Linked DNA regions of Homo sapiens: region 1 is linked to region 2. The links are contacts of gene promoters, found by promoter capture Hi-C in human tissues and cell types (Jung and others, 2019). All regions are on one chromosome and are shown on one strand. Each heading gives the region's core, a stretch centred on a gene start or on the middle of the fragment in contact. The rest is flanking DNA. Distances are from core to core; before and after follow the strand shown. Region 1 holds the start of KRT16 (keratin 16). Region 2 holds the start of KRTAP17-1 (keratin associated protein 17-1).

Region 1 (2,700 bases), core at 1-2,500, 300 kb after region 2:
TCAGGTCCTCAGGCTGCAGCCCTGAGGATTCTGAGGCTCGGGGTCTGCTGGCCCTGCTGGGTGGACCGCCCCACTCTTTGTCCCTTGCCCTCTGCCCCCAGCCCACCATGCTGGCTGCTCACTTGGTCCTGAAGTCATCGGCTGCCAGCCTGGCATTGTCAATCTGCAAAATGGGCTGCGCATTCTCAATGGTGGCCGCAATGATCTGGAGTGGGGATGGAGGACAGGAGCCCTGGTCAGCCAAGGACCTTACTACTTGAGCATGAAAGGCAGAAAGGGGCAAAAGGAACCGCCCCAAATCTGGAAGTCTTCTGGCTGGCAGGGCTGGCATGCCTTCTCCACCAGCTCAGGCTACGTAGGGATGCACTCCATCCCGATCACCCCCTTCCTGGGCCCAAGGCAGGGAAGCTGAACTTGCAGCTGAACCCTTGAAGGAAATAAGAGATTTAGGGTAACAGCCCCAGTCCGGGCACAGAGATACTGAAAAGGGACCCTCTGCTACCACTTCCCTGGGTGATCCTGGCCACTCCCCAAAGGTGCCCAGTCTCCCTGTTTGTAAAGTGTAATTGCTAAAAAGAGGTATCCCAAGGGCCACTGTAGCCCCAGCCTCTCTCAGTGCTCCATACACCAAAGTCACCCACCTTGTTCCTCAGGTCCTCGATGGTCTTGAAGTAGGGACTGTAGTCTTTGATCTCACTGGGCCGCTGCCTCTGGTACCAGTCACGGATCTTCACTTCCAGGTCGGCGTTGGCCTCCTCCAGAGCACGCACCTTGTCCAGGTAGGAGGCCAGGCGGTCATTGAGGTTCTGCATGGTCACCTTCTCACTGCCCACCAGAAGCCCATCACCACCAGCAAAACCACCACCAAAGCCAGCACCCAAGCCACCACCGAAGCCAGCACCAAGGCCACCACCATATCCTCCCCCGAAGCCACTACCAAAGCTGCTGCTGCTGCTGAAGCCACCGCCATAGCCGCCCCCCAGCCCGCAGGCTCCCCCAGAGGAGAAGCGAGAGGAGACAGACAGGCCGCCCCCGTAGGTGCTGGGGGCACGGCAGGACCCTCCGGCCAGGACGGAGGAGATGCGGCTGGAGCCGCCCCCGATGCCGCCTCCGATGCCGCAGGAGCCCTTCATGGAGCTGGAGGAGGTGAACTGGCGGCTGCAGGTGGTCATGGTGCCAAGGAGGGAGGTGAGCGAGTGAGCAGTTGGCTGAAAGAAGGAAAGGTGCTCAGGAAGGCTGAGAGCGTGCTGTGGCTGCCTCCAACCCCAGAGACCTTTATATGCAGCTGGGGAAGGCGGGGCCCTCCTAACTGCTGACTCCAGGTTCCCCTCTGGATTTCATCACTCCCGGTCCCGTCCAACTCCTCACTCTGGATTATTCAGCCCAGGATCAACTCTGCTGTGTGCCGGCTCAGAGTTCCCACCCAGCTTTGGGGGTGTGGGGCCGAGAGAAAAACACAGAAATGCGAGTTCGGTGGTGACTCAGGCTAGGCGGTGGGGAATCAGGCTCCCTTTCCTGGAGCCCTCGGGGCCAGTCGGGCCTTGGCACAGGTGGCTTTGTGGCAACTGCGTCCCCAGGCAGTGAGTCAGCCCTTCAGAAGAACTCCCTGCCCCACAGTGACAGCCTTGGCTGAAAGAGAGCTCAGTGATGCCATCCTGGGCTGTCTTGGGGAGCAGTTGTGGGGATCCCACATGTCCCACTCTGGGCAGGGGCAGAGTTCCTGTCTTCACTCTGCTTGCTGTGTGGCCTGAGGCTCCCCACCTCCCACCTCTGGGCCTGTTTCCCCTCAGTGACCAGGCTGGACTGGGTGACTGCAGAGTCCCTTCTGTTCTAAAAATCCTATAACTCTCTTTCCCCTCTTGGATCTAATTCCAGTTCCAGAGGCTGCCTTGAGCCCCCGGGATCTCCAGAAGTGTGTGCACCATACAAACAGCACTGGCCATGGAGCTAGACAGGCGGCACTGAGTCCCTGCTCTGCCCTTACCAACTGTACAGCACAGGCTGGTCCTATAGCCCCTTGGTCCTCAGTTTTCTCATCTGTAAAAGGGGATGACACACCACTAGCCACAAAGAAACATGCGCGAAGGACCCCACCGGCCCTTCCCCGAGGGCCAGCCCTGCCCCTCAGCCTCCCCATCCTGCCCCTCCAGCCACCTGCTCCTCACACTCACCTCTACACACTGGCACCATCCCGCACCCCTAAGCAGGGCCCTGCGCCCCCCACACTCCCAGCTGAAGAACACCACAGCCCCACACCTAGCTCTGCCACTCCTCTACCGCCCTCTCCTAATCACAGGCACCCCACCTGCAGGCTGGTGGGAGGGAGCCCCATCCTGCCACTACAGCCAGGTATGACCCCTGACCCCACCTGGGCCTCAGAGTCCCCCCCTACCCTGTAGAAACAGGACTAGCCGGGGATCCGTTCCCAGCAGTTCTCTCTCCTGTGTCCACAGATCCCAGGCTAGGCCTGGCAGCTCCATTCATCCAGCTGAGCTGGGGGAGAGCACTGGTTATGGGCCCACTCAGGCATGCATGGAGAGCCCAGTGTGTGCCATACAGTTCTGTGAGCGTAGAGATTCACTCAAAGTCACTCTGCTTTAAGCTGCAGAGCTGCAACTAGAACCCAGAACTCTGGCCCTCTCCAGGCTCCCACCATGCCTGCAGGCGGGGCCAGTATACCCAACTCTCACCCACCTCCCC
Region 2 (2,700 bases), core at 116-2,615:
ATTCAGAACCAATCTTGTTTTACCAAAGCCTCCTTTCCGACTTTGCCAGAAAGTTCTGATCAAGCCTGAAGCCCTCCTGCAGAACCATCCTAGGAGAGCTGTAGTGCAGAAGAAAGCCATGCCCCTCAATCACCATTAAATGTGGCCAGCATCAGCATTCACCCAGGAGCTTTTAAAAATGCAGGTCCCTAGGGACTCTAGGCCCTAGAGCTAACGGGTAAAATCTCCAGTGATAAAACCCAATGATCTATATTTTTAAAAGCTTTTCAAGTGAATCTCATGCAGCACACGGAAGCTTCCGTCTAGATCTATGGTTCTCAAACTTCAGTGCATAAGAATTATCTAAGGTTCTTGTTAAAAACACAGATTCCCAGGCCACACTTTGGTGGATTCTGATTCTGTATGTCTTAGGGAGGGCCTCAGAGTCTCCAGTTTTAACAAGCTCCCAGGTGATTCCGACGCAGGTGATCCAAAAACCACAATTCAAAAACCCTAAGGCAGATGCCAGAGTGAATTTTTCTAACCCAGTCCTCAGCAGGGAGGTCAAGGAAGAGGCAAGAGAACTAATTAGGTTATGCCAGCATGCTCAAATTTATTAAGAGGCTCACAAAGAAGATGGACCTTTTTTGCATCTCAAAGCTGCAGAAAGCCAGGGCGGAGGATCAGTCCCAAAGACACCTTGAAGAAGAGGATGTCTTATAGTACAAGACATTGAACTTCATGTGAATAAGTAAAGTATTGGGGATTCACCCTTGAGCTTGGGATCACTTAGTTGTGACCGAGTTTTAATGTTTCATCAGAGTATGGCTCTTGTTCTCGGTGCCTTGAAATACCAGAGAAGGTGTTGGAGAACAAGCCCTCCTCTACAAATCACAGAAAGACAAGACACTGTCTTGGGGGTATGGAAGGTTCTGGACACGAGGGGCTGTCCCCCTGGAGCAGATGGAGGCTTTCGGTGGGACTGCATCAGTGGTGGAGGGAAAGGTCTTCATTTTGTGTCGCATATAGGTGTGGGCTGGCAGCACACAGGCCCACAGCACCCGGAGCCGCAGCAACTGGACCCACAGCAACTGGATCCACAGCAGCCACCCCCGCAGCCTCCGCAGCCTCCACAGCCTCCGCAGCCAGATCCACAGCAAGACGATCCGCAGCAGCTGCCCCCGCAGCCAGAGCCCCCGCAGCCAGAGCCCCCACAGCCACAGCAGGAGCCGCAGCAGCCACAGCAGCCCGGCTGACAGCAGCACTCTTCACAGCAGTTTTGCTCCTGGGTGCAGCAGGTGAAGCAGTCCCCCGGGCAGCACCCCATGGTCCGGGCCCGTCAGCTCGCAGGTCGGTAACGCAGCCGGAGTTCCCCACGACTGACGGTGGCCAGCCATCTGGATGGCAGCTTTTATATCCCCTCACCCAGGCATGAGGGACGGGATGTTTTCTTTGTTATTATTTATGCAAGTTTCCATAAGACCGGCTCATTAACTGGCTGTTTATTTTCCAGTCCTGAGTACCTCAACTCATAAAAACGCCCCACTCCTGCCAACTGCTGTTTATCCAGAGGGTAAAAATACATCTTCGAAAAGACCTGTCATCATGGCCAAGCATCTGCCAGCTGTCATTAGCCCAGGTTGGAGATGGGAAGGGGAAGCCGGCCACAGCTTCTGGCTCTGGAATGAGGGGCTTGCCTTCCACATCTTCGCAGGTTGGCGATGGACCCCATCTTCCATGGATGCTAGTCCTGGAAAGGCAGACCGGCAACAGCCGAATGCTCTGTTCCCCCTGACACCAGTGGAGGCTACTGAGAACGCCTGGTCACGTGGCTCCTCCCAGGTGGAAATGGCATCCTCATCCCGGTTCATGTGAGCCAGGCAAATGTTTGTGTCTGTGTGTGGTATGGGGAGTGTGCCACACGTTTAGGCTTGGCCGGTGAGCATCAGTCATGAGTAATAACTGCCCTGTGAAACCGAGAGAGACTCATCGTAAAGCTGCAAGAAGCTGGTAAGGCATGGTCTGTCTCGGCGGCAAGGTGAGCTGAATATTCGCACTTCTCTCTAAATAGGTGGGAAGAACTGAGATCAGAACCCTCTACCCACCCCCACTCCAGCCCCAGGCCTTTCCTTGACCGGGGAAGGAAGAGATGCAGGAGGAGGAAGAAGAGGAGAAGGGGAGGAAGAAAGGAAAGAAGAAAAGAAAGAAGAAAGCAGGAAGGAGATCAGTAAATATCCAAAATGCTACATTAAAATGGGAATGTAACGCACTTTTTTTAAGAGTTCGAACCTTATAGACCATCTGGCAGAAGGAGAAATTAGAATACAAAATACCCAGAGTGTCATCCCAAGGAATAAAATGCCTTTGCAAGGAGTCTAAAATCTACAGATGGTTCAGGTCCATGTGTAAATTTTGAGATGGGTCAAAATTTCTGTCTCTTTCTTGGACTTTGGTACCTTGTTCTCCTCTTGGAGTGCCCATGGCAGCCCTGGAGCTGGAATACAACATCTAGTAGGGGTAGAGGACAGAAGATAGGGGTGGGGTGGGAATGGAAGGAGGGATGGGAGTAAGGATCTGGATCAAGGGATCTAGTCCTTCCCTTTTCATTTCCCTTTCTTTGTAAGATGGGCTAGAAGTAAGACAGCCTCTAAGAAGGGCTAGAAGAACTAAGGACAGGGTGGGAGTCGGGAGGGTAAATGATGAATGAGTTACTTGGATCTG

What was found. Contacts are between HindIII fragments. The study calls those that stand out against the background at their distance.
Region 1: a contact is called between the fragment with the promoter of KRT16 here and the fragment with the promoter of KRTAP17-1 in region 2, in 2 of the 25 tissues and cell types used here (mesenchymal stem cells and mesendoderm cells).

The regions. Positions count from the first base shown.
Region 1 is chr17:41,611,517-41,614,216 of GRCh38, forward strand. It overlaps KRT16 (keratin 16), which reads right to left and starts at 1,251. Exons shown (of 8, transcript NM_005557.4): 1 at 642-1,251; 2 at 123-205. The coding sequence starts at 1,172. RefSeq lists an enhancer at 2,282-2,700. The HindIII fragment of the contact is 12,932 bases long and covers 1-2,700 here.
Region 2 is chr17:41,314,345-41,317,044 of GRCh38, forward strand. It overlaps KRTAP17-1 (keratin associated protein 17-1), which reads right to left and starts at 1,366. Exons shown (of 1, transcript NM_031964.2): 1 at 568-1,366. The coding sequence starts at 1,306. The coding sequence ends at 989. The HindIII fragment of the contact is 6,672 bases long and covers 1-2,700 here.